Regions from separate parts of the Homo sapiens genome. Here all the other regions are linked to region 1. The links are contacts of gene promoters, found by promoter capture Hi-C in blood cells and fetal thymus (Javierre and others, 2016). All regions are on one chromosome and are shown on one strand. Each heading gives the region's core, a stretch centred on a gene start or on the middle of the fragment in contact. The rest is flanking DNA. Distances are from core to core; before and after follow the strand shown. Region 1 holds the start of NOS2 (nitric oxide synthase 2). Region 2 overlaps TMEM97 (transmembrane protein 97). Region 3 holds the start of POLDIP2 (DNA polymerase delta interacting protein 2).

Region 1 (3,589 bases), core at 629-3,128:
ATGGGATTCTTGAGGATTCCATGAATAGCAAATAGTAGTATCCCCCTCAGAGGCTCTTGGGTGGGGGCATTAAATGTGTTAATACATGTGTTTGCTGCAGGTATAGCCAGAATATGTGAAAGCAGCTACAGGGAATAGAGTGTAGCAAACTCCTAATCATCCCTCAAAACCCTGCCCTGGTGTCCTCTCCCTTGTAAACTTTCCTTGAACAAGGCAGAACCAGCTACATCAGCACCATACCATCCCTCCATCACTACAGATATCACTCTGTACTATAATTATCCATTTATTTTTCTAGGCCTTGCACTCCCTAAGGCCAGGATTCTGACTCTTTCCCTGAGTGCTGTTTACCTGAACTGAACCGGCATGAACCACCACGCCCGGCCATCTTGTCACTTTCTAAAATGCATTGCTCTTCGTGGCAGATGCTCCATAAGCCAGAGCTCTAAGCCGCAGCATTGAGCCGCAGCATTGAGCTGAAGCCTGAAGGGAAGATGGCTTTGATATGTTAAAACTCATTCCAGTTTACTCCTATTTTTCATTCATTCATCCACACATTCACTCAACAAAGATCCTTGAGCTCTGATATCCATGTCTTTTTTGTGGCTCTTAGTTTATCTTTGACAAAGTTAATATATTATGCTGAATTTAACTTGGGAAAGACAAGAAGGAAATGAGTGGACAGTGGTAGCAAAGTGTTGGGACGGTGAGATCAAGGGTGACTTTTTTTCCCTTTGCTTCTCAACTTCTCCCTAATGTAGTTGTTATTTTACTTTTATGATGGAAAAATGCATATGTATGGGAATACTGTATTTCAGGCATTATAAGGAATGAAATTATAGGCCGGGCATGGTGGCTAACCCTTGTAATCCTAGCACTTTGAGAGGCTGAAGTGGGCAGATCACTTGAGCTTCAGAGTTCGAGACCAGCATGGACAACATGGTGAAACCCAGTCTCTACCAAAAACACAAAAATATTAGCTGGGTGTGGTGGTGCATGCCTGTAGTCCCAGCTACTCAGGAGGCTGAGGTGGGAGGATCGCTTGAGCCTGGGAGGCAGAAGTTGCAATGAGCAGAGATCGTGCCACTCCGCTCCAGTCTTGGTGACAGAATGAGACTCCATCTCAAAAATAAATAAATAAATAAAATAAATGAAATGAAATTATAAGAAATTACCACTTTTTCATGTAAGAAGTGATCATTTCCATTATAAGGGAAGGAATTTAATCCTACCTGCCATTCCACCAAAGCTTACCTAGTGCTAAAGGATGAGGTGTTAGTAAGACCAACATCTCAGAGGCCTCTCTGTGCCAATAGCCTTCCTTCCTTTCCCTTCCAAAAACCTCAAGTGACTAGTTCAGAGGCCTGTCTGGAATAATGGCATCATCTAATATCACTGGCCTTCTGGAACCTGGGCATTTTCCAGTGTGTTCCATACTGTCAATATTCCCCCAGCTTCCTGGACTCCTGTCACAAGCTGGAAAAGTGAGAGGATGGACAGGGATTAACCAGAGAGCTCCCTGCTGAGGAAAAAATCTCCCAGATGCTGAAAGTGAGGCCATGTGGCTTGGCCAAATAAAACCTGGCTCCGTGGTGCCTCTATCTTAGCAGCCACCCTGCTGATGAACTGCCACCTTGGACTTGGGACCAGAAAGAGGTGGGTTGGGTGAAGAGGCACCACACAGAGTGATGTAACAGCAAGATCAGGTCACCCACAGGCCCTGGCAGTCACAGTCATAAATTAGCTAACTGTACACAAGCTGGGGACACTCCCTTTGGAAACCAAAAAAAAAAAAAAAAAAAAGAGACCTTTATGCAAAAACAACTCTCTGGATGGCATGGGGTGAGTATAAATACTTCTTGGCTGCCAGTGTGTTCATAACTTTGTAGCGAGTCGAAAACTGAGGCTCCGGCCGCAGAGAACTCAGCCTCATTCCTGCTTTAAAATCTCTCGGCCACCTTTGATGAGGGGACTGGGCAGTTCTAGACAGTCCCGAAGTTCTCAAGGCACAGGTCTCTTCCTGGTTTGACTGTCCTTACCCCGGGGAGGCAGTGCAGCCAGCTGCAAGGTGAGTTGCCTTCATTTCTGGGGAAGCGGCTGTTTTGAGAGGGTTTTGTTTCTTCCTCTTTGAGAAGGCTCAGAAAATTGTGGGAATTTTCTGCCTACAGAGAGAAGGTGTTGGAAAGTCTAGGTAAAAAAATGCCGACATGAGGTTTGGTCATTTGAACATGGCATCTTGGTCAGATTTCTTTTCTGCAAATATTAGCTGTGGTTGTTACATGACAAGGAAAAACTTTCTGAAAAGTTCAAAATGGGAGTTTGTATCTGCTAAGAATTTTTTTTAACAGAGATTATCTTATCAGTCCTTATAACATGTAACCTCCCCACAAATCCTGGTAAGATGGATATATTAAACCCATTTTATGGATGAATAAATGAGTTTCAGTTAAATAACTTGATCCAGGACACATAACTGGTAGAGCTAGGATTCCAGGATTTGAACCCAGGTCTATGGGGCTATAAGTTCTTTTCTTTCTTTCCCTCTTTCCTTCCTTTCCTTCCTGTCCTTTCCTCCCTTCCCCTCCCTTCCCTTCCCTTTCTTTCTTTTTTTTTTTTGGAAACAGCCTTGACTGCCCAGCCTCAAGCAATCCTTCTGCCTCAGCCTCCCGAGTAGCTGGGACTACAGGCACAAGACACCATGCCTGCCTGGCTAATTTTTCAATTTTTTGTAGTCAAGGTCTCCCTATGTTGCCCAGGCTGAACTCGAACTCTTGGACTCAAGCGATCCTCCTGCCTCGGTCTCCCGAAATGCTGGGATTACAGGCGTGAGCCACTGCACTTGGCCTAAAATTCTTACATGGACTATATTCACTACACTGTCTTCTAAAGACAGAGTTTTTGCCTCTTTGATCTTCCTCTTGTCTGTTTCAAAGGAGATGATCTCAGATTTCGAGGGATGAGTGCATTTTTCACAAATATTTCCTCCCCACATAATAAAAGAGGAGCAAGTAATAATGCTGAGTTAGAACAACAACTGCAAAATCTTTAAAAGAAAGGTAGCTACAGCTTGAGTGCTTTCCCCAGTAATAGACCTAAAACTACAGTTGATAATGAGAGCTGCTGGGAAGTGTCTTTCAGGGTCAGGCAAAGGCACCCCTGTTTCAACGACCTCCGGGCTCTTCCTCACCCTGCCTGTGGCCAGTGATGAAGCCTGGCTGGGTCTGGTGGGCCAGCAGGTCCCGCTAAGGAGGCTCATGGTGCATACAGTTTGTCCTTGTTAAGTGGCGATGGGGATGGGGGGGTTCATTGTTTTTCCTTAAGATTATTAGGTGGCTTTACAGAATTGAAGTCTGTGTCCGAAGGCTCCCCATTCCAACCCCGAAATAGAGACAGAGGTTGCAAAGCATTGATGAAGGGGCTCATGCTGGCGTTCATATCGATTCCCCAGTGAGCCAACCCCACTGAGAAGCCCTGTTCTGTAAACTCTTCTTCAACCTTCCCTCACCTCTGCTTCCCTTCTTCAGCCCCACAGTGAAGAACATCTGAGCTCAAATCCAGATAAGTGACATAAGTGACCTGCTTTGTAAAG
Region 2 (3,640 bases), core at 578-3,077, 530 kb before region 1:
GCCCTGGTCCAGCTGGCCACCCTTCTCTAGGTTCAGACCAAGGGTAGGAGACAGGCCAACAGGCACCAAAGTGTTTAAGCGACAGGGTCTTGCTATGTTCCCCAGGCTGGAATGCAGTGGCAGTTCACAGGCATGATCACACATCCTCTAACTCCTGGGTTCAAGTGATCCTCCCACCTCAGCCCCCTGAGTAGCTGGGACTACAGTTGCTCTCCACCACGCCTGGCCCACACCGAACTATTTTAACACAAATTAGAAGGGGCAGTCCGCTCTGCCCTCTCACTGCCTTAGCACTCTACCGAAGGGGAGTGATGATACTAAGGAAATATTTTATTTTTTGTTCTTTTCCTAAAAGAAATTGGCCAGTTTCAGAAAATAGTTGGTGGTTTAATTGAGCTTGTTGATCAACTTGCAAAAGAAGCAGAAAATGAAAAGATGAAGGTAAGATCAGCATGTCTTCCGCCTACATCTTGGCCTGGGACCCTAGTTCACTACCCTCTCATCCCTCTTCCCTCTTGATTTATTTAGAGGGGTAGAGGGCTGGGTGGGTGAATTTTTATTTAAGATTTTAATAACTTCTGGTCCACTTAACCTACTGAACTTTTGCCAATCTTTATTTCCTTTAATCTTTATTTTTTTTTTTTTTTTGAGACAGAGTCTTGCTGTGTCACCCAGGCTGGAGTGCACTGGTGCAATCTCGGCTCACTGCAAGCTCTGCCTCTCAGATTCAAGCGATTCTCCCACCTCACCCTCCCGAGTAGGTGGGACTACAGGTGTGTGCCACCACACCCAGCTGAGGTTTTTGTATTTTTTTTTTTTTTTTTGAGACGGAGTTTTCTCTCGTTGCCCAGGCTGGAGTGCAATGGTGCGATCTTGGCTCACTGCAACCTCCGCCTCCTGGGTTCAAGCGATTCTCCTGCCTCAGCCTCCCGAGTAGCTGGGATTACAGGCATGTGCCACCATGCCTGGCTAATTTTGTATTTTTAGTAGAGACAGGGTTTCTCCATGTTGGTCAGGCTGGTCTCAAACTCCCAACCTTAGGTGATCCGCCCGCCTCAGCCTCCCAAAGTGCTGGGATTAAGGCGTGAGTGACTGCGCCCGGCCATTTTTTTGTATTTTTAGTAAAGATGGGGTTTCACCATGTTGGCCAGGCTGGTTGCAAACTCCTGGCCTCAAGTGAACTGCCTACCTTGGCCTCCCAAAGTGCTGGGATTGCAGGTGTGAGCCACCACACCTGGCCTCGTTTCATCTTCATATCAGCACTGATGTAGATGGTCTTATCCTCATTTTATAAATGAAGAAATGAAGGCTTACATAGTATGATTGGTGAAAGGCACAAGGCTGAATGGCACCACCAAATGTGCTATTGTGCCTGTGTCCCTGGCTCTAGGAATACTCCTAGACCTGCCTCAAAGCTGCCGTCTAGTTCTTGAGGCACTTTGTGATCAGTAGGTTAATCCTTCTGACTTAACCCAAAAGCTTTGGGGCTCCACTTTCTTTTCCTCTCTGAAGACTGACACAGCTCCCAGATAACCCCTCCCCACTTTGAGGACTTGATGCTGTAGATGGTTTTAATGAAGCCATGGCCTTCTCTGGCAATACTGTAGGCCATCGGTGCTCGGAACTTGCTCAAATCTATAGCAAAGCAGAGAGAAGCTCAACAGCAGCAACTTCAAGCCCTAATAGCAGAAAAGAAAATGCAGCTAGAAAGGTAAGAAGTCATGATGTAAAGCAAGTTCTTTACACAGCTGAATTTCCACTCTTCCTTCTGGAATGATCACTTCTTGTCCTTATTCTTCATCATTGTTTTCCCAGGAATAGCATCTCACTTGTCATCCTGATTTGAAGATTTTAAAAAATAAAATTACATTTGATGGGAAGGAAATAGAAAACTTGTTAATATCAAACCACCTCTAGTAGTTTGAGCATGAAAGGGTCCACGAAGTTGGCTGGCTCTCTGAAAGAAGACTTTCCTAGGGCTGGAGATTTCTCATGGGTGGCTCTGGGTAGGGCTTTGCCTCTTTCTTTCTTCATTCTGAACTCACACCATTTCTTGAAATCATTTAAACCTCTATATCCTTCTCTAGAAGAATTAGGTCTGTGGTTTACTTCATCTTTTTTTCAGGGCCTCTAACAATTTTGTTTTTCAGGTATCGGGTTGAATATGAAGCTTTGTGTAAAGTAGAAGCAGAACAAAATGAATTTATTGACCAATTTATTTTTCAGAAATGAACTGAAAATTTCGCTTTTATAGTAGGAAGGCAAAACAAAAAAAAGCCTCTCAAAACCAAAAAAACCTCTGTAGCATTCCAGCGGCTTGACCAATGACCTATGTCACAAGAGGTGGCGTGTAAGGAATGCAGCCCCCTGAAGACAGCACTACAAGTCTGGGGGAGCCAGTTTTAACATCAGTGCACAGCTGCTGCTGGTGGCCCTGCAGTGTACGTTCTCACCTCTTATGCTTAGTTGGAACTAAGCAGTTTGTAAACTTTCATCCTTTTTTTTGTAAATTCACAAAGCTTTGGAAGGAGAAGCAATAAATTTTTGTTTTCAAATGGCTTGATGTACCTTTTTTCCTGTTGCTCTTGAAATATGTTTAACTCCTCATGAGAGAACCCTGGATTCTCTATCCCCTAGTCCACAAAACAAACCAGGCAGTGGTCAGCAGCTACCTTTATTTGGATCACACACGTGAGTCAGACAGTACCACTAATCGGGCCAATATGGCTTGTGAGCAAAATGGGTGAAAATAGAGGGAACTGACTGGGACCTGTTGTCTAACATCATTTTAAGGTTGAACTTGAGCAAAGACTTAGAGAAAGCTGATGGAATGCCAAGCATCAACGTGAAGAGACCCTCTATGCACACAGTGGATATGTTATGCCTGGCTGTAGCCACCTTCTCTTCTGAAAACAAGATGGGAATGACGGAACTGTATTAAAAGATTAAGTTATCCACTAGGGAGCATACTAGCACACTTCCAGATCAGCCTTGAGATGCTAGACTTCAGATACAGGGACTTGTGTCAGGTGGCCTCTAGAAATGTGGAAGACTAAGATTTAGAAATAAACTAATTTAAAAGCAAACAAACAAAAAAAACTTTCGCCTAGGATGATCTGTTTACAACAGAAACAAAAACATTTTCCAGTTTAATCCATTTGACTGAAAGTCATTGTTGGGCTGACCCTTAAGGAAAACTTAAGTTTAAACTTCCTTTGCATAGTATGTTTTCTCTTTTTTCCTTGGGTTAGAGGTGGGAACAAGAAAACATTGATATAGTTTTGAATTAACATTAAAGAGGCAAAATTTCACATTTAAAATGGCCCAAAATATCCCACTATTCATTTTGCTGACAGGTGATACACTCTTGAGAATCAGGAGTGGAGGGTTTAGTCATAAGCATATATGCTGTGGGTCAGGTGACTCATGAACATGTCAAACAGGCCATGTTCTTTAGCAGTTTCTGGTCTGGTCCTGCTTTTAGTAATCTTGCGGTGGAACTCAGGCACACAGTTATTTGGTACCACTTCCTTATAACCTAGCCCACACCCCTTTGCCCACCCTCAAGCCGATCGGTCTGTTCATCCCAGTGCCCTTAGAAGGTGAAGGTTTGGGCTGGGCCCAGTGGTTCACGTCTGTA
Region 3 (4,020 bases), core at 711-3,210, 560 kb before region 1:
CGCTAAGCGCACCGGAAGTTGCTCTGAGCTCCGGGGTGGGACCAGGCGGGCCAAGAGGGCCGGGACGCCGCGCGGGGCAGTGTGGGACTGGGGCGGAACGCCGCCCGGCCGCGGGTCGGGCTCTGTGTCAGCAGCCGGGCGGGCGCTCGGGCGGGACATGGCAGCCTGTACAGCCCGGCGGGCCCTGGCCGTGGGCAGCCGCTGGTGGTCCCGGTCGCTGACTGGGGCCCGGTGGCCAAGGCCGCTCTGTGCGGCGGCCGGAGCTGGAGCCTTCTCGCCAGCGTCGACCACGACGACGCGGAGGCACCTCTCGTCCCGGTGAGGGACGGAGCCAGGGGGCGCGAGGAACTGGGCCTGGAGCCCAGAGAGCGTGTTCCTAGCCAGTGCGGAGGCCAGGGGCCCGGGCCTGCTGAGGGTGACTGGAGTTTGACCCGGGAGAGGGTCCCGAGCAGGGAGCCGACCTGCGCTGTCTGGGACATGTGCCAGGAGCAGGGAAGCCAGCGCGGCCCAGAGCCCTGGTTGTACAGGGCTGGCCCTGGGGGGGAACAGGTTACCCTCCCCAAGTGAATCCTACTTCCCCGGCTGGGGTCCCCAGCACCGATGTCAGAGGGAAGCTTTTTAATTCAGCCCTAGGGCATTGGCTTGAACCCTCAGCCTTTGGATTTGGTGAAGGTCTGCCTCAGAAAGATGCTAGAGGTGGGAAACGAGACTCTTGGGTGTGGACCCTCGTAGGCCCCAGGTTTCCAAGTGACTTTGGGGAGATCGATTTTCTATCTGTGACTTGGGGAAGGGGGTTTGAGGCCATGGGGATGGTGTGGAAACTGTTTCCACGGATGGGACAGGCGGATCAAATGGGCTGGTGGATCAGTGGGAGGAAGCATAAAGTTCACATCTTCAAAACAGTAAAAACAGCCTTTATTTGAAGGGCCCCTAGAAAGAGCAGCCCTGTTCAGAGTGGTGACTGACATTTTAGTGGCTGATATTAGACACTGAACATTGGGGAGAGATGATAGCTATTTGCAATTTAAGACCCCTGTGAGAATATGAACAAAAACGGTATTGAGAGAGCGATGTGCCGTAGGAAATCTAGAGATGTTTAAGCTTTTCAAGGGCAATGTAAGGGCTACAGGTTAGAGGGGGAGATGGACATGGAATTATAATACAGGACAAATATTTTTTGAGCACCTCTTGTACACTAGGCTCTGAGGGGGCAGTACCAGCTAATCAGACTCAGGCATTGCTCCCAGGGAATTTACAGTATTTAATAAAGATAAGACATGGACACAACTGAAATGTAAAGGGAGCAGGATATTGTTTGATGACTTGTGATATAGAAAATGTAAGAAAAGAAGAAAAAAAGATACTCCCCTTCTAAAAAAATTGAAAAAGTGAGCAAGACAGTTAAAGTGCTGTGGGAGGTCAGGAGGGTGGGTTAGGGAAGAAACAAGGGCAGGGGTACATTTGAGCAGAGTGTGAGGGCATGATATGAAGAATGCCCAGTGAAGAGAGAAGACAGTAGTATGGGAGCGGTCACATCTAACACTGGGAGACTGTGGAGGTTTTCACCAAGGAGGAGGAAAGCCTTTCCTGCTCCAGCTGGTCCCACTACCCCAAACCCTTCTCTGCTGTCATCGCCCTGGCCCCTCAGTATCCTAGGAGCTTTTTCTTATGGATAACTACCATTACCTTCTCAGCTTTTCTGTTGCTTGTTCTTTTCCTTCCTACTCAGAAACCGACCAGAGGGCAAAGTGTTGGAGACAGTTGGTGTGTTTGAGGTGCCAAAACAGAATGGAAAATATGAGACCGGGCAGGTGAGTATTGGGCTGGGTCATCTTTCATTTTCATAGAGTGCTCTGCTTCTGAAAAAAGTCAGATTAGGTCACAGGCCTGCATGGTATGGTGTTCCATTCATTCCACCTTGATGTTTGGTGCCATTCCAGAATCAAATTTGTATTCATTTTTTATTTTATTTATTTATTTTATTTATTTATTTTTTGTGAGACGGAGTTTCAGTCTTGTTGCCCAGGCTGGAGTGCAATGGCATGGTCTCGGCTCACTGCAAGCTCCACCTCCTGGGTTTAAGCAGTTCTCCTACCTCAGCCTCCCTAGTAGCTGGGATTACAAGCATGCGCCACCACACTTGGCTAATTTTGTACTTTTAGTGGAGATGCGGTTTCTCCATGTTGGTCAGGCTGGTCTCGAGCTCCCGACCTCAGGTGATCCACCTGCCTTGGCCTCCCAAAGTCCTGGGATTACTGGCGTGAGCCACCGCACCCAGCCCAGAATCAAATTTTTATAGATAGGGTTTCTGTTCTCCTGGATTTGAATGCACTTAATGTGTCAGTGGGTTCTCTTTCCAAGTTAATGTGGACAGGGATGGTGTGGACTATAGTGAGGTTTAGCCAAGTTGCTGAAGATTTCTCTAACATAGTGGATGGTGGGAAGCCGTGGAGGGAGCTTTCAGAAAAGTATACCTTTGATGCTTTGCCGTAATAAAATTGACTTCAGTGTGGTAAACTCTGGATGTGTGGTTCTTTTTCTATATCAGCTTTGTTCTGGGTCCACTGGGATAGATTTAGGCCCTTCTAGGATATTGTAGGTAAGGAAGACTTTTTGTTTGTTCAACATTTTATTTTTCTGTGTGCCTACAATGGACTAGGCATTGTGCATTAGGGTTAAATCAGAAAGCAAAGTAGACATGATTCCTGCTATTGTGGAGTTTCTAGTCTAGAAAAGAACGATTTGCAAATGGCCAATAGCTGTACATTGTGCTAAGTGGAAGGGAGGTCAGGGAAGGCTTCCTGGAGGCCTAAGCTTTTACCTAAAGGATGAGTAGAGTCAGCCAGGTAAAGAAGAAATAAGAGTGTTCCAGCATTGGTCTGGTTGATCACAGACTTCAAGGGAAGAGGTAGCAAGACCTTGTGCTGGAGTTGCCTCCACCTGTGTTGCTTTGTGGTCTGGGGCCCACCTGGATGGATTTGCTGGACTGCAGACTCACTGAGGCCCCTCTTTCCTTCCAGCTTTTCCTTCATAGCATTTTTGGCTACCGAGGTGTCGTCCTGTTTCCCTGGCAGGCCAGACTGTATGACCGGGATGTGGCTTCTGCAGCTCCAGAAAAGTAAGTTTCCCTGTGGTTGTGCCTCACAGTATCCTCAGGAGGAGATGGCAGACATATGTAATTGGGGTACTAGGGGTGAAGACAGCGTCCTCCTAGGCCTTGGAAACATCCCCAGAGTACTTCTCTGGGACTAAGACCCATGGAGACAAAAGTGCTGAGTGCCAGGGATAGTCTAAGTCAGAGAGTCCCTTTAGGCCTCCTCAGAATGCTTTCCTAAGCCATTCCTAATTTTCATTATGAGTATCCCAGAGGGCATTTGGGGGACAAGTCTTCTTGATTTCTTGATGTTCAGCTGGAGTCTTTCCCTCAATCTCACATCATCCCTAGAATACATTAAAACAGAAAAGGTTCAGCCCCATTAAGTGATCACAGACAGTCCCTGGGATATAAGAAGACAAGAGTACTCTGGGCCCTGGGGACTGAGGTGGCAATTTGATTTTCTCAACATGGCCCCCTTCTTTTAAGAGGTATCCACACGGTCAGATGATGGCTCCATACCATGGTCTTCCATGCTCTATTATTTGCCCCAACTGAGGAGCAGCTGAGCTGAGGTGCTGCAGAGCAGGTGTCCAGCTGGTGCTAAAGCCCCTTTAGATCAGAGACCAGCCTGTTTAGGTGAGGAGGAGTAGGGAGCTGAGTCAGCCACAGCTTCCATTTCTCCTGGGGTGATCTTGGCCTCCTTCTCCCACCCCATAGAGCAGAGAACCCTGCTGGCCATGGCTCCAAGGAGGTGAAAGGCAAAACTCACACTTACTATCAGGTGCTGATTGATGCTCGTGACTGCCCACATATAGTAAGTAAGCAAGATGGCTGGGCTTGGGGGTCCTCTCCATGGAAAGTCCTGCATCCCAATGGGGACAAAGGGAGGGAAGGGGGTCAAACAGAGCCCAGGTCAGTCTTGG

Evidence for each region. Contacts are between HindIII fragments. The CHiCAGO score rates a contact against its expected background, and 5 or more counts as called.
Region 2: a fragment that was not itself captured here is called in contact with the fragment with the promoter of NOS2 in region 1 in 1 of 17 cell types (endothelial precursors); the score reaches 5.9 in endothelial precursors.
Region 3: a contact is called between a fragment that was not itself captured here and the fragment with the promoter of NOS2 in region 1, in 1 of 17 cell types (erythroblasts). The highest score is 5.7, in erythroblasts.

Annotation. Positions count from the first base shown.
Region 1 is chr17:27,798,818-27,802,406 of GRCh38, reverse strand. NOS2 (nitric oxide synthase 2) reads left to right here and starts at 1,878. Exons shown (of 27, transcript NM_000625.4): 1 at 1,878-2,068; 2 at 3,525-3,589. RefSeq lists a cis regulatory region at 1,341-1,363, an enhancer at 1,676-1,704 and promoters at 1-1,914, 1,673-1,965, 848-1,965, 1-2,045. The HindIII fragment of the contact is 2,695 bases long and covers 1,252-3,589 here.
Region 2 is chr17:28,327,244-28,330,883 of GRCh38, reverse strand. It overlaps TMEM97 (transmembrane protein 97), which reads right to left. Exons shown (of 3, transcript NM_014573.3): 3 at 2,199-3,640. IFT20 (intraflagellar transport 20) reads left to right here. Exons shown (of 5, transcript NM_001267776.2): 3 at 356-441; 4 at 1,608-1,711; 5 at 2,151-2,558. The coding sequence ends at 2,232. Among named protein-coding and RNA genes, the nearest start is that of IFT20, 6.4 kb to the left of the region's middle. The HindIII fragment of the contact is 691 bases long and covers 1,482-2,172 here.
Region 3 is chr17:28,353,586-28,357,605 of GRCh38, reverse strand. POLDIP2 (DNA polymerase delta interacting protein 2) reads left to right here and starts at 79. Exons shown (of 11, transcript NM_015584.5): 1 at 79-318; 2 at 1,730-1,811; 3 at 3,021-3,118; 4 at 3,815-3,911. The coding sequence starts at 158. RefSeq lists a silencer at 1-381 and an enhancer at 1-679. The HindIII fragment of the contact is 1,713 bases long and covers 1,104-2,816 here.